4 separate regions of the Homo sapiens genome follow, and all the other regions are linked to region 3. Evidence: promoter capture Hi-C in 16 types of primary human blood cells and fetal thymus (Javierre and others, 2016). All regions are on one chromosome and are shown on one strand. The core of a region is centred on a gene start or on the middle of the fragment in contact, and the rest is flanking DNA. Distances in the headings are between cores, read along the strand shown. Region 1 holds the start of BBS5 (Bardet-Biedl syndrome 5). Region 2 holds the start of KLHL41 (kelch like family member 41). Region 3 overlaps UBR3 (ubiquitin protein ligase E3 component n-recognin 3). Region 4 holds the start of PPIG (peptidylprolyl isomerase G).

Region 1 (3,047 bases), core at 365-2,864, 460 kb before region 3:
CGGGTTCAAGTGATTCTCCTGCCTCAGGCTCCCGAGTAGCTGGGATTACAGGCGTCCACCACCGTGCCCAGCTAATTTGGGGTTTTTAGTAGAGATGGGGTTTCACCATGTTGGCCAGGCTGGTCTCGAACTCCTGACCTCAGGTGATCCGCCCACCTCGGCCTCCCAAAGTGCTGGGATTACAGGCCTGAGCCACAGCGCCCAGCCCAAGCAGAGATTTAAGTGACAAAGGGCAGGCCTATGCAGAGGTCTGGGGAAACAGTGTTCCAGGCAAAGGAAGGGGGCCCTCCAAAGTCTCTGAGCCCTGTCTGGCAAGAGAGCAGCCAGAAGTGAGGGTGGTTGGAGGTTGCAGACATAGGCAGGGCCACATTGAGCTAGGCCCAGGTAAGGAATTTGAAGCTTTAACTCTAAATTTCTTTTTTCCTCATTCTAAAACCATCCCAATAAAATTTATAAAAGTAATCAGGGAAGAAAGTGTGGGGGAGGGGACAAAAATAAACCAAGCTTGCAGCCAATTCGGCATTAATCATGAGGTCAGCTTCCTCTCTGACCTGCTTGCTCAGAGTTGTTTGGTGCCTATTGTCCTAGAATCATGCAGACCCTGTCACAAGATTATAGTTCCCTTCTATTGCTCTATAGAGAACAACTTGAACATTATGAAATACTCAGTTTTCCCTTTGAGATAGTCTTTCAGATCCTGCATACCAATGAAACTACTGCCTCAGCTGGCCTGAAGGATCCCACTGATGCCAGCTGGTCTGAGGAACCCGTGAGAAACTGATTCAGCAAAGAATGCAGCTTCCCTATCCTGATGATTTCATCTCCCTTACTCCGACCAATCAAGGACCCCAATTTTCCAGCCCCTCGCCCTCTGTGATCCTCTTAAAAACCTCAGCCCAGAACTCTTGGGAAGATAGATTCGAGGATCTCTTCCCATCTCTTTGCTAGGTGCCCTGCAATCATTAAACTCTTTCCCTGCTGCAAACTCTGCTGTCTTCGTGTAATGGGTTTGTTACTGCACAGCAGGCATACGAACCTGTTGATCCTATATCTCTATCACCTAGGCTGGAGGGCAGAGGCACGATCATAGCTCCCCGCAGCCTCCACCTCTTGGGTTCAAGAGATCCTCCCGCCTCAGCCTCCCGAGTAGTTGAGCCTGCAGGCGTGCACCACCACCCCTGGCTAATTTTGGGTTGGTTTTGTTTGTTTGTTTGTGTTTGTAGAGATGAAGTTTCGCTATGTTGCCCAGGCTAGTCTCGAATTCCTGGCCTCAAGTGATCCTCCAGCCTCGGCCTCCCAAACTGCAGGGATTACAGGCAGAAGCCACCATGCCCGGCTAATAACCTGAATCTCTTGACGGTGAAGAGAAATAAGGAGAGGGGTAAAATGGCTAAAGGATGTCTGTTTGGAGGCAAGGAAGGTCGCCCAGAGGTCAGGCACGCTCCCCTTGGCGGACACAGCTGGGCTTCTCAGAGACTCCTAAATCCTGCCTCGCATCTCAAATCGGCTTAACGACGCGAAAGAGCTGGGCGACGCGCGCGCACTCTCGCGGAAGCTTGAGTCTCGGCGCCCGCCGTAGACGTCGTGACAGAGGCGGCCCGTTGCCTTGGAGCCAGAGAGACGCAGCTAGGCCTGCACGGCTGTGGAGAGATCCTGCCACGGGCCTTGTTCACCATGTCGGTGCTGGATGCGCTTTGGGAGGATCGGGATGTCCGTTTCGACCTGTCCGCGCAGTGAGTTTCCAAGATTCCCGAGGGATCTTCAACCCTGTAGAGGGCGCCGCCGTGCGCGTTAGGGACCCGCGGGCGGAGACTGCACCTCCGCAGCTCGCGGCCCTGGTGAGGGTGGGAGGCTTGCGCCGGTCGTCCGCGCCTCGAGAGACCTCAGGCTGGTTGGGCCACTGTGGCCCTCTCGAGGCCGGCGCCGCGGCAAGAGCGCATCGGCATTACACAGTTTTGGTCCCATGCGACCTCCGGTTCCCCCATCCTGGCCCGCGGGACGGATCAGGAATGTGAACCTGAGCACGACCGGGGCCACCCGGGGCTTAGCGTCCCGTATACACCCACGTGAGCTTGGGATTTCAGTTTCATGGAAGGAACGTAGGTCAGGGACTCAGGAAACTAGGGTTCTAAAAGTAGATGTGTAATATCGACCCACAGTGTGGGCCCTTGAGCAGATGTCTTCATCATTCAAGCTAGAATCCTCATGTCTGTAAAATAAGGGAGGTGGGAGTAAGGCAGTCGTCAAAAATTACTAACCGCGCAAACTTTATGTCCTTGGTAAGCTTTCATCTAGTTATTCATATCAGTCACCAACAAGAAGGAGTCTTCTTTTGCAACCTGTTTTTGGAAATTATCATACATTAAATAGAAACCATGTTTTTGGAAAGTATCGTAAAGAAAAAGTGGTTAGAAACCTCCTACTCCAAAATCCAGGGCGGGAAATGCCGGTTGGGTTACTAAGTGTTGAGAAACGCTAAAGCTAAGATTCCTGGATTAATGGCATGGAGCTTCTTAGCTACTTCTTATCGTTCCTTATCATGGACCTCCCCTCCTTAGGTGGAATCGTTCCTTATCATGGACCTCACCTCCTTAGATGGAATCGTTCCTTATCATGGACCTCACCTCCTTAGATGGAAAAATGAAATATTGATAAATTTCTCAGGTTAAGTATAGCTAGATATCTAATGCTAACATGTTAGACCCTTTAAGAAGATGAAAGAGAAAGGAATTCGTAAAATTACGGACTGTAGTAACATATTGCGCACTTTCTATGACATTTTCTGTCATTCTTTTTTTTTTTTTTTTTTTTTTTTTTTTGAGACAGAGTTTCGCTCTTGTTGCCCAGGCTGGAGTGCAATGACGCGATCTCGGCTCACTGCGACCTCCGCCTCCCAGGTTCAAGCAATTCTCCTGCCTCAGCCTCCAGAGTAGCTGGGATTACAGGCACGCACCAACACGCCTGGCTAATTTTGTATTTTTAGTAGAGACGGGGTTTCTCCATGTTGAGGCTGGTCTCGAACTCCTGACCTCAGGTGATCCGCCCGC
Region 2 (2,967 bases), core at 229-2,728, 430 kb before region 3:
TCTACAGCCCTACTTGAGTTCAGATAATGTGACAATATGACTGTGTAATAAAGTATTTAATGGGCCCAGTGCGGTGGCTCACACGTGTAATCCCAGCAATTTGGGAGGCCGAGGCAGGCGGATCGCGAGGTCAGCAGTTCGAGACCAGCCTGGCCAACATGATGAAACCCTGTCTCTACTAAAAATACAAAAATTAGCCAGGCATGGTGGCGGGTGCCTGTAATCCCAGCTACTCGGGAGGCTGAGGCAAGAGAATTGCTTGAACCCGGGAGGCAGAAGTTGCAGTGAGCCGAGACTGCGCCATTGTACTCCAGCCTGGGTGACAGAGCGAGACTCTGTCTCAAAAATAAATAAATAAATGAAAGTATTTAATGAAGTATATTATACCATCTATATATAAACAAAGGACCGATTTTCTTTCAAATCATTACTTCTACCTCCATAATTAATATGGTATTCTATTATAATCAACAGCCTACGTTATGTCCCCAGTTATATACTCTTTAAAAAAAGGGGGGGCTGTTCTCTATGACCATTGTAGGAGTTCATCTTGATTTTGCTGTGTTTAGTGATAACATTGTTCTCATGGGGTTATATCTGTTCTATTTTTCACGTTTTATTTAATGAATGATAATTTTTGATATTTAAAATTACAGATTATCTTTTGTGATCTTATTTGAATGTGTGTGGACTTTTTCGTTCCCTAGATTGACTTTTAATTATTTTTTCTGGCTCTGTGATTCCTTTTAACCTTTTGCTTTTATTTTACCTTATTATCGTTTGCCACATTAGATCATTTGTATGACAAGGCAGGATATGAATAAATAATTTTATAATTTAATTCAATATTAATTACAGTTTTTCCATGTAAGAATAATTTGGAATGTTTTAGAAAATTAGCAATTCCTCTGCATTTCTTTTTTCAATTATCATGGCAACATTAAAGGTTTTGTAAAACTAGTACAGAAGTAAACATCTTTAAGTTTACTACTTCTAAAAGAAATATCTATATCCCACTGTTCTGAGTAGAAAGTAAAAATTTGTATGTTAACAATTATTGGAAATGAGATCTTGCTTATGAGTATTCAAATGAACACATCTCATATTCTTGACCTTTGCATCATTAATTCAGAGAGCCAAGTAGCTTGACACTAGAACATATTTAGAGGAGTGACTCATTTTTATGATTCATTTTTCTGTTAATTCAATAAACATTTTCTTGTAGTAGCCTTTATTAGTATATCTTCTAATGTGTTATGTATTTTTAAGCTTTCAACTTCACTTAAATGTCTTGTTTCTTAGCTGTTTCCCTAGTGATTAAAAGTTCCAGTTGTTACTTTCAATCTATAACAGCTGCAAGAACAACTCTTCTTTCCAAGCCAGCTCTCCTAAATTCCCGTTGTTAGAGTTGGTATCTATATTTAGCTAGTGGGATTAAATTGCAAAGGCTTCAAGCTGGGCAAAGCACACTGATCTGCCTTTTTACAGCTAGACCTGTGTGCTGCAAGGAGCTAAGGCCTTCAGTGTCCCCTTCCTTACCCAGGTTTCTCACAGAATGGATTCCCAGCGGGAACTTGCAGAGGAACTGCGGCTTTACCAATCCACCCTTCTTCAGGATGGTCTAAAAGATCTCCTGGATGAGAAAAAATTCATCGATTGCACCCTAAAAGCAGGTGACAAAAGTCTTCCTTGCCACAGATTGATTTTGTCAGCTTGTAGTCCTTACTTCCGTGAGTACTTTTTATCTGAAATTGATGAGGCGAAAAAAAAGGAGGTAGTGCTAGACAATGTGGATCCTGCTATACTTGATTTAATCATCAAATACCTGTACTCTGCCAGTATTGATCTCAATGACGGAAATGTGCAAGATATTTTTGCATTGGCCAGCCGCTTTCAGATCCCCTCAGTGTTTACTGTCTGCGTTTCTTATCTTCAGAAAAGACTTGCTCCTGGTAACTGTCTAGCCATCCTAAGATTAGGACTTCTTCTTGACTGCCCGAGACTCGCCATTTCTGCCCGTGAATTTGTGTCTGATCGCTTTGTACAGATTTGTAAGGAAGAGGACTTTATGCAACTGTCTCCACAGGAACTGATCTCAGTCATTTCAAATGACAGCCTAAATGTAGAAAAAGAAGAAGCAGTATTTGAGGCAGTGATGAAATGGGTGCGAACAGACAAGGAAAACAGGGTTAAAAACCTTAGTGAAGTGTTTGATTGTATCCGTTTTCGCCTTATGACAGAAAAATATTTTAAGGATCATGTTGAGAAAGATGATATAATTAAAAGCAACCCAGACCTCCAGAAAAAAATCAAAGTTCTAAAAGATGCTTTCGCAGGCAAACTCCCAGAACCTAGCAAAAATGCCGCGAAGACTGGGGCTGGTGAGGTGAATGGTGATGTTGGTGATGAAGATTTACTTCCTGGTTACCTGAATGACATTCCCAGGCATGGAATGTTTGTAAAAGACCTCATCCTCTTGGTTAATGACACAGCAGCAGTGGCTTATGACCCCACGGAAAATGAATGCTACCTTACTGCACTGGCTGAGCAGATTCCCAGAAATCATTCCAGCATTGTTACCCAGCAAAATCAGATATATGTGGTAGGAGGACTATATGTGGATGAAGAAAATAAGGATCAACCTCTACAGTCATACTTCTTCCAGGTAAGAAGGACTTTTTGTATATGTAGTTGCTTAAAGGGAAGGCTGTTACTCACCATCCAGTTAGCCAATTTGTGAATTATTCAAGCTGCTTGCATTTTACTCTAATTGATGTCCTATTCCAGTCCCTTGCACTTTTGCTGTATAGAGCGTTGACAGAAAAATATTTGACTGCTTTGTTAATGTGTAATAAAAAGTTTGGTGAATAATGAGGTTCTAATTCATGTTTAATGACTTAAGATGTTCTTTATACTATTTTACCAAAAATGCCTTGTTTATAGATGATCGTGACTGTAATCCCTCAA
Region 3 (2,943 bases), core at 125-2,624:
AACTGTTTACCAATGTTTTTCTGGCTCTCATTTAGATAAGTATGTTAATATCCTTTACTATGGTTGTAGATTTGTCGTTTTCTCTGTGTAATTCCCTCAAAATTTGCCTTTTGTATTATGAGGCTGCTATTACAGTTGTCCCCTCTTATCTGTGGTTTAGTTTTCTGTACTTTCAGTTACCTGTAGCCAATGGCTGTCCGAAAATATTAAATGGAAAATTCCAGAAATAAGTAATTTATAGATTTTAAATTATATGCCATTATAAGCAGGATGATGAATTCTTGTGCCATCCTGCTCTGTCCCACCTGGAATATGGATTGTTCCTTAGTCCAGTGTACCATGCTGTATATACTACTCACTTGTTAGTTATTGACATTGTCTGCTCCTGACATCCAGCCATCACATTGTCATGGCCTGATGATTCAGGATCACCTGAAGCAGATATTCCTCCTTCTGATGACATGTTGTTAGAAGGTCATTAGTAGCCCGATACCATGTCACAGTGCTTACCATCATTCACTTCACTTCATCTCATCACATAGGCATTTTATCATCTCATATCATCCCAAGAATAACAGGAGTGAGTATAGTACAATGGTCCCCCTCTTATCCTCAGGACATGTTCCAAGACCCACAGTGGATGCCTGAAATGAGGGATGGTATCCAAACCCTATATATACTATGTTTTTCTCCTACAATACATACCTATGATAAAGCTTAATTTATAAATTAGAGATAGTGAGAGATTAACAGTAATAACTAAAGATAAAATAAAACAATTATAACAATACTCCGAATGGCATCCAATTGAAAACCTGTGAATTATTTCTGGAGATTTTCATTTAATATTTTCTGACCATGGTTGACCATGGGTAACTGAAACTGTGGAAAGTGAAACTAGGTATAAGGGGGACTACTATACATAAGGTATTTTGAGAGAGAAAGCATGTACACATTCACCTAACTTTTATTACAGTATATTGCTGTAATCTATTATCACTTACTGTTGTTAATCTCTTACTGTGTCTAATTTATAAATTAACCTTTATCATAGGTATGTATGTGTAGGAAAACATAGTATGTAGAGAGTTTGTTATTATCCATATTTTCAGGCATCTACTGGGGGCTTTGGAACGTGTTCCCTGAAGATAAGAGGGGACTACTGTATTTGCATACAAGTTCATAATTATCTTCTTGGGGAACTTGTTCTTACATCCCAGAAGAGACAGACAAGCTAATTCATTCTCCTTGTGAGTTACTCTTTCAGTGAGGGTAAAGCCTGTCAAGGGTCTCAGCTTTAGATGGGATATCAGTTCTATCTCTGAGCCTTGTGTGAGCCCAACATACCTTGTGATCTGTTTGCTCAAGGACTTTAAAACCACTGGCACAGTGTTAGTGCTTGTCATTAATTCCTTCTTTTTTTCTGGTAACTGGAGAATTCCACTTTTGTGTGAGCTCAAATACGCATTCAAAAGATTACATTTATATTTTATCCAGCTTTTCCAACCATTCGTAGTGGGAGAATTTTCAGGTCGTCTATTTTGCTTAATCGTTACAGCTGGAAATTTCCTTGCTGAGTACTTCATGTGTATTCTTTCTGTTCATTTCTCTTTGTTAGCACTTTAAAGTTTATATATTTTTTAATTTTCAGCTTAGCTCTCTTTACTCATCTTTAGCCATTAGGAAAAGAAATAGTAATGTTCATTGTGTAGAGAATAGATACCTCTTTGGCATTTTAAGCAATTTGATTAAAAATAGCACTGCATAAAATATTGTGACAGAAATTGGTGTCTATAAATTACATTTAAACCACAGTTTGATTTTGAGGCTATCATCTAATTCTAGTTTTGTTTTATTTTTACAGTTTAAAACAGAGTGGAAAATTTCCTGGAAATCCCTGGCCTCCATATAAGAAAAGGACATCACTCCATCCTAGCTATAAAGGTCTTATGAGACTTTTGCACTGTAAAACTTTACACATTGTGCTATTCACTCTGCTTTACAAGGTACAGTAGTAATTTGAATAGAAAGACTAAGCTTAGAATTTATTTTCAAATAATAATCCTAAAGGATAATATTTACATAAAAGTACCACTTATAAAGCAAAGTGTATTTATGCATTTAAGATGTATGAAGATATGTTATAATCACATGTATTTGAAATCCAAGTTGAACATAACAGAATAGCTACAGCATTCTTTGTGAGAAACTATTTATCTTATCTAGCTACCGATAAAAGTATTTATTTATGGATTCTGTAGAACAGTAAGTGAAATACCGTGGAACTACAGGAGGTGTGGAATGAGCTACAGGGACCAAACAACCATCAGAACCCACTAAAATGACAAAACTAGAATGGCAGTTATGTGAGGCAGTGAATCTTAGGTTGGGGGGTTCTTTTTGCTTTTTCCCTCTAATCAGGAAAGTGACGTGGAAGGATTTGAGTGTGGTTTCTATGTGGCAAGATCAAAAATTGTTTTTGATAAACATTTTAGGAACTAACAAGATGATGCTTTTACTTGCTTGTTATCTAAAATTTGTTTTATTTTGGGATCTTCTCACGTAAGACAGATTTATTTGACTAACATTAATTGTGTACTCAAAAACTTGTGTGAAGCATAATATTGTATAGTATGTATGTGTGTATATAATAGGGATTTTTATAATCTCATCTGCATGAAAGATGAAAGAAGGCTGGGCGCGGTGGCTCACGCCTGTAATCCCAGCACTTTGGGAGGCTGAGGTGGGCAGATCACGAGGTCAGGAGTTCGAGACCAGCCTGGCCAACATGGTGAAACCCTGTCTCTACTAAAAATACAAAAATTAGGTGGGTGTGGTGGTGGGCGCCTGTAATCCCAGCTTCTCAGGAGGCCAAGGCAGGAGAATTGCTTGAACCCGGGAGGTGGAGGTTGCAGTGAGCCCAGATTGTGCCACTGCACTCCA
Region 4 (3,053 bases), core at 313-2,812, 360 kb before region 3:
CATTTTCTTTATCAAGTCTACCATTGATGGACATTTAGGTTGACTCCATGTCTTCGCTATTGTGAATAGTGTGGCAATGAACATACATATGTGTATGTCTTTATAACAGAACAACTTATATTCCTTTGGGTATATACCCAGTAATGTGATTGCTGGGTCAAATGGTATTTCTGCCTCTAGGTCTTTGAGGAATCGCCACGCTGTCTTCCACAATAGTTGAATTCATTTAAACTCCCACCAGCACTGTAAAATGTTCCTTTTTCTCCACAACCTCACCAGCACCTGTTATTTTTTGACTTTTTAATAATAGCCATTCTGACTGGTATGAGATAGTATCTCACTGCGGTTTTGATTTGCATTTTTCTGATGATTGGTGGTGTTGAGCTTTTTCATTATGATTGTTGGCTGCAAGTATGTCTTCTTTCGAAAAGCGTTGGCCGGGCGTGGTGGCTCACACCTGTAATCCCGGCACTTTGGGAGGCCAAGGAGGACGGATCACCTGAGGTTGGGAGTTTGAGACCAGCCTGACCTACATGGAGAAACCCTGTCTCTACTAAAAATACAAAAAATTAGCCAGGCCAGTCTGTGGCCCAGGGGTTGGGGACCCCTGTTTTAAGGTATTGCAGAATTGTCCCCTCCACACACAGCGAAGTGTAAATCCGTTTAATCTCTGAACTATCTAAAGATGAATATGCTGCTGCTCTCCTGCAATAAAGGGCAATGACTTAAAAGAGGTGGGGGTGGAGAGGCAGAAATGTCCTCTGTTTTACTGCTGTGTAAAACTGGTCACGCCCCTTAGAAGCACCACCACATGCCTAACTGTTGTTGATAATTAATTTACCTGATGCAAGTGAGTGAAAAATTTAAATGATCATAATTTACGTTGCCTTTAAACGACAGAACAATTTAAGTCCTCTAGTTAGCTAGTTCCTTTAAAACACACCCCACATCCCTACCAGAATCACTGCCCATCCCCCCCCACCCCCCCGCCCAAACAGCAATGGTTATTTATTTCTAACATAATCCGGGGACCCTTGCCCCTTAAAATAATTAAATAATATATGCCATATTTTCTCTAGAAGGCACTAGATTTGGCATCAAAAGACTTGCTTTGGCATTCAAGAACAGTGTGTTTGAGGAGGAGGCGTTTATCTTCCCTGAGCCTCAATTTCTTTATCTGTAAAACAACAAAGAACATCAAAGCTCTTTGTAATTTCTTCCTCTTTCCTCAAATAACACTTTGCTCATTACTGCGTTTTTAGAACTTATATCCTAGCGTTAAGTGGAAGCTTAACTGGAAGCTCCATGAAGGTAGGCCTTCCTTTCTGATAACCTAGCGTAAGATCAATAAATGTTTATTAAATGAGGCACTTTACTTCACAAAGGATATGGCATTTTAACGGTTACAAGCGTTCCCAGTCAACGCATCCACAAAGCATTAGGCCACCTATAAACTAGGAATTTAAAAGGCACCAAAATCCTAGAAGTCCTAGGAGGGCGTGGTGACGCAAGCAGGTGAACGCTGGCCGATGCTGACAACCCACTCCTGACGCGCTTCCGGTGCGACGCTGTCTCTCCATGCCAGGACTGAGTTGTGGGGGAGGGAGGCGGTTAGCGGGCTTTAGCGCCTTTTCTGGCGGCGGTAGATTTGAAGCGCTTCAAAGGACCGGACCCAGAGAAGAGGAAAACTCTACCGGTGCAGGTAAGTGGTATGAGGCTCAAGTTGTTCTGGCGGCGTCATTTCAGCAGTCCCTGCGTACGAAAGCGGGAAGGGCCTGGGAAGAGGGGCGGAGCCGGCGCGGCTGACCGGGTTGGGTTTACCGTCTTTCCCTCGAGGTATCGGGGCTGCTTGGGCCCAGAGGAAGTCCCTGAGGACCGCAGCAGTGCCTTTGCCGCTGTTGCAGAAGGAGAAGGCTTGCAGTCGAGCCCCGGGGCCTGGGGACGGTCCTTCCTCTGCCAGCCCCCGCCCTCCCCACTCAGGCGCACACCTCCCTCACTGACGCATTTTGCCGCACAAGCTGTAACATGGCGGCAGCGACTGCGGCCTGAACTCTAGGGAGCCGGGTTGATTTTTAAAGCTTCAAAATCCTAAGACTCAGCACTGTTGCGGGGTAGGTGGCGGGACTGGTGGGGAAGGGGGAGACAGCCTGACGTCCTGTCAGGCTAGGGTTGGAGAGTGACGGGCGAAGAGCCTGAATCACAGGGATTAAAATTGAAGACTAGCTTTCCTCCTCTTTCGACCTTTTCCTCTCACAGCACAGTGGCTGTCGTGCAGTTAAGTGGCAGAGGCCACTTTGTTAAGCATTTTTCTAAAACTCAAGTCCAGGGTCTTGAGCTCTCGCGAAGTTCCCCCGTGTTTCGGAGGAGCTGTGAGCTGCGCAGGCCTTTTAGGAGGAGATAATTACTCTTTAGGAGGAAGATGATGATTTCGGGGCTCAGTATGCCTGAAGGGGAAGTATGCTAATTTGGTTCTTGGTTAGTCTTTTTTTTTGAGACGGAGTCTCGCTCTGTCGCCTAGGCTGGAATGCAGTGGCGCGATCTTGGCTCACTGCAACCTCCGCCTCCTGGGTTCAAGTGATTCTTCTGCCTCAGCCTCCCAAGTAGCTGGGACTACAGGCACGTGCCACCATGCCCGGCTAATTTTTTGTGTTTTTAGTAGAGACGGGTTTTCACCGTGTTAGCCAGGATGGTCGATCTCCTGACCTCGTGATCCGCCCACCTCGGCCTCCCAAAGTGCTGGGATTACAGGCGAGAGCCACCGCGCACGGCCAGCTCATGTTTAGTCTTAAGGAGCAAAGTCTAGATGTGCTGGCAAGGAGTATGCACAATCGTTTTGGAAATGCTATAAAAGCACCATTTTGTGCATTGATTTTAATTTCTTTCCACGATAGCCCTTTCTGTGTGTAACCAACATTTTGCAGTAGTGAACACAAATACAAAAGTATTTGCTTTTATAGTTTGGTACTAACATAGTTGTCCAAAGAACAATTAGATGTTTTAGAAATTAGGGGGGCCTGATATTAACTTTCAGTAGTTAAAACCAGGAAAAAAGA

Evidence for each region. Contacts are between HindIII fragments. The CHiCAGO score rates a contact against its expected background, and 5 or more counts as called.
Region 1: the fragment with the promoter of BBS5 here is called in contact with a fragment that was not itself captured in region 3 in 6 of 17 cell types (naive CD8 T cells, naive B cells, M1 macrophages and 3 more); the score reaches 5.7 in naive CD8 T cells.
Region 2: a contact is called between the fragment with the promoter of KLHL41 here and a fragment that was not itself captured in region 3, in 8 of 17 cell types (naive B cells, activated CD4 T cells, total CD8 T cells and 5 more). The highest score is 10.5, in naive B cells.
Region 4: the fragment with the promoter of PPIG here is called in contact with a fragment that was not itself captured in region 3 in 1 of 17 cell types (non-activated CD4 T cells); the score reaches 5.4 in non-activated CD4 T cells.

Annotation. Positions count from the first base shown.
Region 1 is chr2:169,477,880-169,480,926 of GRCh38, forward strand. BBS5 (Bardet-Biedl syndrome 5) reads left to right here and starts at 1,615. Exons shown (of 12, transcript NM_152384.3): 1 at 1,615-1,733. The coding sequence starts at 1,675. RefSeq lists enhancers at 1,429-1,538, 1,549-1,888. The HindIII fragment of the contact is 729 bases long and covers 1,554-2,282 here.
Region 2 is chr2:169,508,224-169,511,190 of GRCh38, forward strand. It overlaps KLHL41 (kelch like family member 41), which reads left to right and starts at 1,479. Exons shown (of 6, transcript NM_006063.3): 1 at 1,479-2,665. The coding sequence starts at 1,556. The HindIII fragment of the contact is 4,398 bases long and covers 1,268-2,967 here.
Region 3 is chr2:169,940,629-169,943,571 of GRCh38, forward strand. It overlaps UBR3 (ubiquitin protein ligase E3 component n-recognin 3), which reads left to right. Exons shown (of 39, transcript NM_172070.4): 20 at 1,865-2,006. Among named protein-coding and RNA genes, the nearest start is that of UBR3, 110 kb to the left of the region's middle. The HindIII fragment of the contact is 1,321 bases long and covers 715-2,035 here.
Region 4 is chr2:169,582,789-169,585,841 of GRCh38, forward strand. PPIG (peptidylprolyl isomerase G) reads left to right here and starts at 1,563. Exons shown (of 14, transcript NM_004792.3): 1 at 1,563-1,702. RefSeq lists an enhancer at 1,479-1,528. The HindIII fragment of the contact is 789 bases long and covers 1,288-2,076 here.